2 separate regions of the Homo sapiens genome follow, and region 1 is linked to region 2. The links are contacts of gene promoters, found by promoter capture Hi-C in human tissues and cell types (Jung and others, 2019). All regions are on one chromosome and are shown on one strand. Each heading gives the region's core, a stretch centred on a gene start or on the middle of the fragment in contact. The rest is flanking DNA. Distances are from core to core; before and after follow the strand shown. Region 1 has its middle 22 kb from the start of SNX27. Region 2 holds the start of CGN (cingulin).

The links. The method cuts DNA at HindIII sites, captures the fragments that hold promoters and counts their contacts. A contact is called where the count stands out against the background at its distance.
Region 1: a contact is called between a fragment that was not itself captured here and the fragment with the promoter of CGN in region 2, in 2 of the 25 tissues and cell types used here (IMR-90 fibroblasts and spleen).

Annotation. Positions count from the first base shown.
Region 1 is chr1:151,587,230-151,593,291 of GRCh38, forward strand. No RefSeq gene overlaps it. Among named protein-coding and RNA genes, the nearest start is that of SNX27, 22 kb to the right of the region's middle. The HindIII fragment of the contact is 3,838 bases long and covers 1,276-5,113 here.
Region 2 is chr1:151,508,809-151,514,492 of GRCh38, forward strand. It overlaps CGN (cingulin), which reads left to right and starts at 2,579. Exons shown (of 21, transcript NM_020770.3): 1 at 2,579-2,707. RefSeq lists enhancers at 1,656-2,232, 2,233-2,808, 2,960-3,099, 3,962-4,538, 4,539-5,114 and a silencer at 2,230-2,629. The HindIII fragment of the contact is 12,501 bases long and covers 1-5,684 here.

The DNA.
Region 1 (6,062 bases), core at 1,945-4,444, 79 kb after region 2:
AGAAGTGTGCCTTCCCATGTTGACAGTCTCAACTCATCTCTTGAAGCCTAGATGACCACTGAAGCCAGTCCTTGCTGATCTCTACCTCTAGCCTCTTACCTGCCCCACATCTACCCTCCCCACCACTGTCATTTGAATCTTCCTGGAATGCAGTGTTCTTTCTGTCAGTCAGGGCTATTTAGCCAGGACAAAAGGAGGATGATAGCAGTTTCCAAAAAGATGAAGGTTGGTCTCTTGGGAGGAGCAGCAGCAGTTTTGCTCCAGAGGGCAGAATCTGGATGGTGTGGGGTGGTTGCAGGGAGATAGCCAAGAAACAAAAGAATCCATTGACAATTCGAGGAGGGTGGGCTGTCTTGGCAAGTAGCAAGTTTTCCTACACACACCAGCAGTATCTCAATTAGAAAACAACATAAAATATAACAAGAGATAGAAAATACCTAGGCATAAGCTTCATTTGAAATGTCAATGACCTATGTGAAGAAAATGACCACATTTTGTGGAGAAAGATGGGAAAACAATGAAGAAAAATTTTCCTGGATGGAAAATTAAAATTGTAAAGATGTCAATTCTTTATTTTTAGGCTTTGTGTAATTACAGTGAGTTACATTGTAATTCAATAGAGTCTTTTTAGAACTGGATATAATTATTTTAAAATTTCATCTGGAAGAATAAATGGGAAAATGGTAAAGAAAATTTGGAAGGCAGAGCTAATTTGGGAGGATTATTAGCCTTGGCAAATAGCAAAACATTATATAGCTTATACATCAATTTAAGAGACTAGCTAGGCAGAAATAGACTCAATTATACAGTATAAGCATTTAAAAAGGATAAAAGCAGCATTGCAACTTAACGGGGAAAAAGGTATTTGAACAGTTGGTTAAAAATTTGGGAAAAGGCTGGGCGCGGTGGCTCATGCCTGTAATCCCAGCACCCTGGGAGGCCGAGGAGGGTGGATCGCCTGAGGTCAGTTCAAGACTAGCCTGGCCAACATGGCAAAACCCTGTCTCTACTAAAAATACAAAAATCAGCCAGGCATGGTGGTGCACACCTGTAATTCCAGCTACTCAGGAGGCTGAGGCAGGAGAATTGCTCCAACCCAGAAGGCAGACGTGGCAGTGAGCCAAGTTCGTGACACTGCACTCCATCCTGGGCAACAGAGTGAGACTCCATCTCAAAATAATAAGAATAATAATTGGGAAAAAGAAACTAAACAGCATACCTAAATTCTATATAAATTAATTAAATATTACAAATTGTAGAAAAACTACAAGAAAATAAAATTGAATATCAAATCCAAAAGGAAATACATTTAGAATGTTAGTATTGAAGGTCATGAAGGAACATATTTTTAGTTCATAAAAATGTAAAATTTCTGAATTAAACTAAAGGCCCAAAGAATGAAGAATTATTAGTGACAAATGTGGTGAACAGGCAACATTTTTATTGATCAGCTCAAACAAATTGATACAATTACTAAGATTTTACTAGATCAGTGGTCAGGAAAAGAATAGTTCATCAAAAAATTCATATTCTGGCCAGGCGTGGTGGCTCACGCCTGTAATCTCAGCACTTTGGGAGGCCAAGGTGGGTGGATCACCTGAGGTCAGGAGTTCGAGGCCATCCTGGCCAACATGATGAAACCCTGTCTCTACTAAAAATACAAAAATCAGCTGGACGTGGTGGTGCGTGCCTGTAGTCCCAGCTACTCAGGAGGCTGAGGCAGGAGGATCGCTTGAACCCAGGAGGCAGAGGTTGCAGCGAGCTGAGATTGTGGCACTGCACTCCAGCCTGGGTGACCGAGCGAGACTCCATCTCAAAAATAAGTAAATAAATTCGTATTATTTTTAATGCACATATTTATTAAGCTCCTGCTCTCTACAGGCCACCGTGTCTTTGACCAAGGATTCAGGTAGGGACACAGCAGCGAACAATACAACTTTGCTCTTGCCCTCAAACATCTTGTGTTAGGTAGGATAACATGGGCTAAAAGTTGGAGAAAATGTGACTGCAATTGGTTTAAACAACAAAGGACCAGTGTTTCTGGTTGAGGTGACAGAAAAGTTCAGAGACACTTTAGACTCAAGTGAGCCTGCATAGAGAAGCTTGAGGTCTCACCAAATACCCAGCTTCTTTTCATTTCTTCTCTCTGCAGAAGAGGTTTGTTGCAGTGCTTATTATAATCATATAAAATGGGAAACAACATGTGTCCAACAATAGAGAAATGGGTAAGTAAATGAGGATGCAGTCACTCTGGGACATTATGCATTCACTACAAATGGCTGTTATGAAGACTATGTCGCATCAGGGAGCAGTGCTTAGAATGTTAAATGAAAAAAGTAGGACACAAAATTTTATGAACATTTATGACAGCTTTGCAAAACAAAATGTTTCTGGAAAGCCTAGAAATAAATATACCTAAATGCTAATCATGTTAGCGGGGTGGGTTTTGCCTTTGTTTTTGTCTTCTGTTACCTTTATTCTTTTATCTAAATTTTCTAGAGTGTTTACTCTCTCTCCAGCTAGGCTGTGTTCTCACTGCCTTCTGCACATACTGGGATCATTCCTGTCTTTGTACAATTGCTGGTGTTATTTCTTTTACCAGCAATGCCTTCCTCTTTTGACCTATTAATCCATTAAATATTTACTGATAATCGAATCAAGGGTATTGTATAGCTTATGCAAGATAATGTATTTGAAAACACTTTTGTAAAGTGCTTCACAGATGTTACTTGTTATTGTTAGGTGGAAAAAGAGGAGGAGGAGGAAGAGAAAGAACCTATTATTTGCATGATATTGAGCCAGGTACCGTAGGGGATGTCTGGATGGAAAATATAGAACAGGGTTGTAGCCTTCCAGAAGTTTGCACTTGTCAGATGGATGGGAGAAAAACAGCAGCATGTGAAATAGGTGAATAGTCATGGAACATGTGAAATGCTAATATGAGAGAAGGGTGGAGAGGCTGTGGAGCTAGAACTAGGCTCCGAAGGATTTGGGCAGGTAGATCGGCAGGAAGAAAGCTTGAGTTGGAAATGAATGTGGCATATGTGGGGGATGGTGAGCCCAGCTGAAGAGACCTTTGGGAAAGTGGCAAGAGGGCAAGGAGAGACAAATGGAGTGGGCCTTCTGGGAAGAGTCTGGACTCTAATCTTTATTCTTATTTTTACTTTATTTTATTTTATGTTTGAGACGGTGTCTTGCTTTGTCACCCAGGCTGGAGTGCAGTGGTGTAATCTCAGCTCACTGCAACCTCCTACTCCCTGGTTCAAACGATTCTCCTGTCTCAGCCTCCCAAGTAGCTGGGATTACAGGTGCGCACCACCATGCCTGGCTAATTTTTGTATTTTTGTAATTTTAGAGACAGGGCTTCACCACGTTGGCCAGGCTGGTCTTGAACTCTTGACCTCAAGTGATTTGCCTGCCTCGGCCTCCCAAAGTGCTGGGATTACAGGGATGAGCCACCACACCCAGCCTGGACTCTAATCTTTAAAGTGAAAGGTCTCCATTAGAGGTTTTTGTTTGTTTTTGTTTAAACTAGTATGTAAGTTCTGTCAAGGCAGGGATTTTTCTTGCCTGTCTTGTTCAACACTGAATCCCTAGTATCTAGAAGAGTGGCCCCTGGCACATAGTAGATGCACAATAAATATTAGTTGAAGAGAAGTTGGAATGAATGAATCACTAGAGTGACATGATAAAATAAGAAGGCTAATCCCAAAGAGGCAAAGAGCATGGATTGAAAAGGTAAAGGCTGGCAGCAAGGAAACAAGTAATAGATGTTAGGGCACCTCCAGGCATGAAGCAATGAGGGGCTGAACTGCGATAATGGCCACTGGACTGGAAAGAAAGGGACTGGTGGTGTGAGAGTCACTGGGAAAGAACTGATAGGCCTTGGTGACTGACCAACTGGTGTAGGAGAAAAGGAGAGGAAATAATGAAAGATAACATCAAAGAAAGTTCCTCATTCTTCAAGACTTAACCTGTGTTCTCTTTCGTGAAGCCCTCCCAGAATTCTCAAGCCTGTGTTGTGTTCCCTTTCTGCTCAACACAGATCATCTGTATTACCCTGTTGTAGGATGTCATAATGTACTGTCTTCCATTATAATTCGGACTTTGCATGTGTTTGTTTCCCCAGAGAGACTGCAAGCTTTTAAAGGTCAGGGATATCTCTAATTCCACAGTGCCTAGCCCTAATAGTGCCACAAAGTAGATGGTTAATACGTGCTTACTGATTTAGAACAAGTTTATTCAATCAAGCCATCCTGGGCCGCGTCAGGATGGCTTTGAATGTGGCCCAATGCAAATTTGTAAACTTTCTTAAAACATTGAGATTCTTTTGCAGTTTTTTTTAAGCTCATTGTCTATTGTTAGTGTTAGTGTATTTTATGTGTAGTCCAAGATAATTCTTCTTCTTCCATTGTGGCCCAGGGAAGTCAAAAGATTGAACAGCCCTGATTTAGAAGAAACCTGTATTTTTTTCATCATAAAGAGGCATTTCTGTTTGTTTTTTTTTTTAAATTATTGTTTTCATTTTCTTTCTTAGTTGGCCCTAGGGAATGAGGAAGAGACAGATTCTGGGACCAATATCCTCCTTACGGGAGAGTCAAATGCCAGCTATTATCATTGCCATCAGCAATAAATAATCTTATTCATGCATTCATTCACTTGTTCTTGTATTCAGTCATTCAACAATAGGGGAATAGTGTAGCATAGAGTTTAAGGAGTTAGCATGGGCTTTGGATCTTGCTCATAATCTTAGATATGTTACTGGCCATACTAGTTTGGAAAAGTTATTTAAGCTCTCTAAGCCTTAATTTCCTAATCTATAAAACCAAAATAATAATGCCTATCTAATAAGAACATTTACCAAGTGCTTACATGCACTGTCATTTAATCCCCATTTTACAGATGAGGGATTGAGACATAGTAAGTCACTTGTCCAAGGATGCACAGGTAGAAAGTGTCAAACCAGTTCTAGGTCATAGGTGATTCGATTCCAGAGCACTTGTGCTTAGTGCCATGCCTGACAATCTCATGGGTGTGGCAGTGGCCAGCACAAAGCCATATGAGGGGATCCTATGTGGCACGTTTGGCATGTAGCACATGCTAAATATGTTAATAATTGTCAATAAGTATTTTTTGGCCCAGCACAGTGGCTCATGCCTATAATCCCAACATTTTGGGAGGCCGAGGCGGGCATTTTACCTGAGGTCAGGAGTTCAAGACCAGCCTGGCCAACATGGTGAAACCCCATCTCTTCCAAAAATACAAAAATTAGCTGGGTGTGGTGGCATGTGCCTGTAATCCCAGTTACTCAGGAGGCTAAGGCAGGAGAATTGCTTGAACCTGGGAGGCAGAGGTTGCAGTGAACTGAGATCACGCCATCGCACTCCAGCCTGGGCAACAAGAGTGAAACTCCATCTCAAAAACAAATAATAAATAAATAATAACTAAATAAATAATTTTTTTTAGCATTCAATGTCAGAGAAGATATAGGGCATGGCTTTGAGGATGTGAAGAGGAAAAGATACACAGACTCTGCTCTCAAGTTGCCACCAGTCTAGTAGTGCCACCAGACACTGGTGTAAACCAAAAATAAAAATCTAAGCCTCCCCAACTATCTGAATGGACCCGTCTTCTCAGCCAAGGGCATTCCAAAGTTAACCTGAAAAACTAGTTCAGGTCCTGATTAGAAGCAGGAGCTGGACATACCTCATCATAACCCTCATCCCTTTTGGAATTACTGATGGAACAGACTCTTTAAGTCTGATAAGAAACATTTACAATCTATTGTTTCTGAAGCCTGCTACCTGGAGGCTTCATCTGTATGATAGAAGGTTGGTCTCACAATCCCTTATCTTGACTCAGATATTCCTTTCTATTGATTCTAATTCTATTGATTCCTGACATAGCACTCAGGAGATCCTGAGAACATGTGCCCAAGGTGGTCAGGCCACAACTTGGTTTTACACATTTTAGGGAGACATAAGGCATCAATCAGTACATGTAAGGATGTACATCGGTTTAGTAAAGAAAGGTGGGACAACTGGAAGGGGGTTGGGGGAGCT
Region 2 (5,684 bases), core at 1,329-3,828:
CCATTTCTTTTTTGAAAAAATTTTATTATTATTATTTTTTATAAAGATGGGGTCTCACTGTGTTGCCCAGGCTGGTCTTGAATTCCTGGGTTCAAGCGATCCAACTCCAGGGCTCAAGCTATCCTCCTGTTTTGGCCTCCCAAAGTGCTGGGATTAGAGGCATGAGTCATCACGCCTGGCCCTGTAGCATTTCTTAAGGAGAGGGATCACCTGTCTTCTGAACTCTGGAAAAAGACCAGGGTGTCGCCTTTGTCACTTGTGCCTGGATGTACCTCTCAGACTGAGTGCTTCCTTGAAGAACAGATGACGAAGGCGGTGACTCAGAGGCTCCCACTTATCCTTGTAATTCGTGTTCATGGTGCTGGGTAACCACCCAAATTGGTATTTACTACAAATATACTAAGTATCCTAATTGCTAAGGTGTTATCTAGGGGAGTTTAGGCGCTTCCGCCTTTCCAATATCTGAGTCAATTTAATATCCCACATTAAAAAAAAAAATCTCCTTACAAACACTTGGTGGGGGCGAGCGTGGTGGCTCACTCCTGTAGTCCCAGTACTTTGAGAGGTCGAGGCAGGCGGTTCGCTTGAGTTCAGGAGTTCAAGACCAGCCTGGACAACATGGAAACCCCATCTCTACTAAAAATGCCAAAATTAGCCCGGTGTGGTGGTGGGCGCCTGAAGTTCCAGCCACTCAGGAGGCTGAGGTGGGAGGATCGCTTGAGCTTTGGAGGCTGAGGCTGCAGTAAGCAGAGATTGCACCACTGCACTCCAGCCCGGGTGACAGAGTGAGACTCCGTCTCAATGAAAAAAACAAAACTAAAGCAAAAACAAAAACAAAAAAACCCAAAACAGGCTGGGTGTGGTGGCTCACGCCTGTAATCCTAGCCCTTTGGGAGGCCAAGGTGGGCAGATCACTTAAGGACAGGAGTTCAAGACCAGCCTGGTGAAACCCTGTCTTTATTAAAAAATACAAAATATTAGCCGGAAATCAATTGAATCTGGGAGGCGGAGGTTGCAGTGAGCCGAGATTGCGCCACTGGACTTTAGCCTGGGCGATAGAGCAAGACTCCGTCTTAAAAAAAAAAAACAACAAAAAAAACCCAAACCAAAAACCATCCCATGGGAGTGTCTCTGAACCTATTCTGGTTCAGGAGGCTGCACAATAAAAGAAAAATAAGAAAAAATTTTTTAAAAAAAAGTCTTTTAAAAGCCACCCAGTGTTCAGGAGGTGCGCTCCTGGAAGGACATTTCCTCTTCTGTCCCCACCCCCACTACATGTTTTTTGCTGTTCCTCCCCAGGGAACAGGCCGGTTTGATGGCCCTAATCCTTATATACAGCTTGCTCTGGAATGCAGAGACTTTGCATCCCAGCTGAGGAGCTGGTAAGTGGACTTTACTCTGTAGGACCCACACCTAGCTTTTGAAGGCTTGGGGAGGGGCGGAAACCAGCTCCCGAGAATACACCGGAATCTGTGCTGCATCGAAGATTCCTCTTCTACTCCAATAGATACAGGGTAAATATTTGTTGTAACTAAATGAGAACAAAATCCGGAGCCCAGCAACGTAAACGAAGTCAATCTCTTTTTTACATATCTCAACGGTTAACAGCTAGGATGCCAGCTTTAATGTTGTTTTAACTGCAGCTGGTATGAGCGGTCCTGCAGTTTGCAGAGCCCCTAGTTTTTACTCTTTTCTAGGAACTGGGATCAGCATCCCTACTTTTTGAGAGGCTAACTCTGAGGTAAATTTACAACTGAGTCCCTTTCAGTTTAGAACGAAGGTCATTCCTATTTTGGTAAATTTGCGTCCCCGGTTTCCATTCATTCAGTCAACAAATATTTATTAAGCATGTAGTATGTACCAGTCCCTGTTGTAGGCGTTTGGGGTGAAGCAAGGCACAGAACAAGAGATCCTTGCTCTGGTGAAGCTTATCGTAGGACGGGAGGCAAAATGATGAAAATGATTTTTAAAATTATGTTATTAACTAGAAGGTGATAAATATTACATAGAAAAAGATGTCAGGCTGCAAAATGATTGCGGAGGCCACAAGATAAAAGAGAATCCAAGATCAGGGTTCTGGTTCGGGTCAGGGAAAAGGGAGACGAGCTGAGGTGCAGGAGGCTCTGACGTCGGGGGACAACGGAGATATTTTCTGCAGAAAGTGACGAAAGAGCATTCTGGTTCCTGCAGAGGTAGGTGAAGGACAGAAAGGGCCCTGGCCGGCGATTCCCTTGGAGTAAACGGGAGGCAGGAGGCTGTTTTCTAGCAGAGCCCAGAAGATGCTCTGGCCGACGGCTCCCGGGATCTTGGCCGGCGGTCACTCGCGACCATCCGCGACGCCCCCAAAATGGCCTCCGCGCCCCTCGCCGCCCCGCCCCGACGCTCCGCAGCCCGTGGGTCCACGTGACCTGGCCCGCCCTTCGCGGCTGGAGACCCCGGGTCCCGGTCCCCGCACCGGAGGCCCCGCCCCCTACGGGAAGCGGACCAACCGGAGCGGGGAAAGGCGGGGCGGGCACTGACGGCCCGCGGGGGTGGAGCTCCGCAGCGGAGTAACAGGTTGGTGGGAGGGAGAGAAAGGAGGGAGCTCCGAGGACGAGGGGGAGGGCCGGAGCTGCGCGTGCTGCTTTGCCCGAGCCCGAGCCCGAGCCCGAGCCCGAGCCCGAGCCCGAGCCCGAACGCAAGCCTGGGAGCGCGGAGCCCGGCTAGGGTGAGTGGACCCGGTGCGGGCCAGGGCACCCGAGAGGAAAGCGAGCCTTCAGGGGTACCTTTGAGGGGCAGGCATCGAGGCGGTGTGAGATGCCCCTCTCCAGGGCACCGGTGCCGAGTGGGAGACGGGAGGAGGGGAGATTGGGGCGGGGTGGGGTACTGATTAAGAGCCGACCCCTACCCTGAGGTGCCAGATGCAGGTGGCTAGGAAGGTGCCAGGCGAGGGGCACCTGGGGCGAAGGCTGTTCCCAGCGCATGAAAGCGTTTCAGCGCCAGATGTCTCTGGAGGTCAGACGCCAGCCCTAGGGGCAGAATTTCTCTTGGAGACAGCGGTGGCGCGGGGAAGGAGTTAGTTCCAGCTGAGTCGGGAACTGCTGCTGCCTGAGGTGCAGACTCGCCAGGGGAGGGCATCTGCAGGTGCTGCTCGCCTGAGGGTCTTTCCTGCGTCCTGCGGTCTCAGCTGGCCGTTGTCAGCACCCTGGTGGCTTTGAGATGACTCTGAGGTGTGGGATTTTTTCCCCAGCCCTTCACCTCCGGCCGAAGGCAGTTGCGAATCAGAGACACTGAGGGGCAGATGAGAGGGCACCCTCATCTCTTCACCAGGTGTACAACCATTAGGCTTTCACTTTGTGTCCTTTGCTTTCGTGCCAGGGAGAATCGTTCCTTCTTCCTCTTGAGAGAGAGAGAGAGTACTCCCCAAGAGAGGGATATGAGGAAGCAAAGAGCCCTGCCTGGTCCTGCAAAATATTGATAAATATTAATACTTATTTCTCAGGAGGCCCCTTTCTGGGGGCGGATGTCAAACCCTTTCTCCAAGTACCCACATATTTTTTCTGTGGTTCTAGATGGGGACCATTGGATGAGGTTTGGGAGCCCAACCAATTTCCTTGATGTCTGGAGGAATCCCCATTACTCCCTGAACGCCCTCCAGGCATCCCTGACTCCTGAACTGCGGTGGCTGTCAGAATGGCAGCAGGCACTATTGGGGCAGGAAATAGGCAGGACTCATCAGGAGACCACGAGACTAGGGAAATTACAACTCCAAATCCCCAGGACAGATGAAAGGTGCACCTTGGGGCCCAGACAAGACTGGAGGCAAATTTCTTTGCCTTAGGCAGGTAAAGGAACTAGAGTCAACCTTAGCTTGGCCCCTTTGAAGCCCTGCCTGAGGAAGGTTGTTGTAATTGGGAAATAATTAGCAACCGCTATGTTTGTAGATGGGCTGCCTACACATGCCTATGCATCTCTTCTTTCATCCTGGATGTTTGGGAGTCTGGGGGCTGGCTCTGGGGGACTGCTAATCCAGAGATTTGCCCGACTCTAAGAGGATTCTGGCTTCCTAGAACCCTTCCTGTGTTTCCCAGGCTGGCCTGCATGCCATTCCCCTTGTGGGAGGTGATGGGGGTGTAGGGCTCTTCTCTTTGTGCCAGGGAGGGGCGGACTGAGGACCAGGGAGGTGGCCAAAGCAAGTGTGGGATCAGGAATGCAACTTTGGGAACCTCAAAGGGAGGGGTGGAGGGAGACAAAGTCTCCCTGTCACATACTGGCCTGTCACCAGGTTCCTGTTCATCTGCTCCTCCTGCCTGTTCCCTCCCTGCCCTCTGTCCTCTCCTTCAGAGCTTTGGCTTTGCCATCAAGGCTGGAGAGCCCCTGCCTGTGGTCTTGCCCCTCTGCCTCCTCCGTGGTGTGGAATTTCTCTGGTCTGCTTTACAAGCTGCCAGTGTAGTTTCCCCGGCCCTCCCCTTCCCCTTGCCTCTCAAACCAGTCCAGCCAGTTTGCAGGGGCCCAGTTCCTCATTGTGTTTTTTTCCCTACTGGCCAAGCAGCTGTAGCCTGGCTCTCAGGTTTCTGCTCTTTCAGCGGACCTGGGCAGGAGTCCACTTGGGGGATTCTTTTTGGATCCACGGGGAACCTTCTTATCTCTAACTATGAGAAAAAGGGTGCCAAATCATCAAGGTCACTGAGCTGTCCTTTTCTATTTCGACCATTTGCTTTCCTTGTTTCCTCTGAGGGGATTCTAATCTCTATACCTCAAGTTCTCCCGTTTTCTAAATCTGCCAATTATTTAGCATCAAGCATATTGCCTGGCCCTATGTGAATCAGTCCTTCCTCCACACACCCGAAACCACCCCACCCCCACTTCCTGCCAGAAGTCCAGATACCCTGTCACTCCTAGTTGGAAACCAGATGCATATGGCTGGGCCAGAGGTGATGGAATTGGGGCAGGGCAGGCTAATGAGTAACTCAGGGAGAAGTGGCTGTCTGGTACAGGTGTAGAGTGTTCTCCCACTCCTTGCAGGCAGGAAAGGCAGAAGCAGACAGATGCACCTGAATCAACTTGTGGTCTGGTCTCTTCCTGGAGTACAGTTGGTGAGGAGAGCCCTGGACATGTGATAGGGGAGAGAAAAGTAGGGTCAGGCATTGGTGAGGGCGCAGGCCCTGGACTCCATGTTGCCTGGCCCTTGATCACTGTTTACCTGCCTGTCTCTGGGGCTTACGCAAGGCCTCAGAGCTGCCCTGCTGCCTTGGTCCCGCCCCACTGTCCTCTGTAACCAAAGGCGGGTAGGTTTCGGGTTTTCCATGTTGAATCATTTAGAGCCCTGCTTTCTGACCCACCCCAAAGATCCCTTCAGCCCTCCTGGCCCCTGATCCACATGTCCTTGGACTGAAGGTGATTGAGGTTAGGGAGTTAACCTAACCTGGGACCTGGGGGAGTGTTCAACACTGCCTCTGAATAATTTAGTGCTGTTGCTCAAGGGTCTGTGCCCTCTGCTGGGCCTAGGCTGGGAACTCCTTGACCTGGATCTGGAAGATCAGTAGATGTACTGACAGGGTAGACTGCATCATGAATAAATCATATGGCTTCTGAGAGCTGGCAATCTAGGCACTTCTGGTTCTAAGATCATGACTACATAGGGCAGCAAGTCTGGACCAGGAGGAGGTCCTGTTGCTAAGAGGTCCTGTTACTGAGGCAAAGTA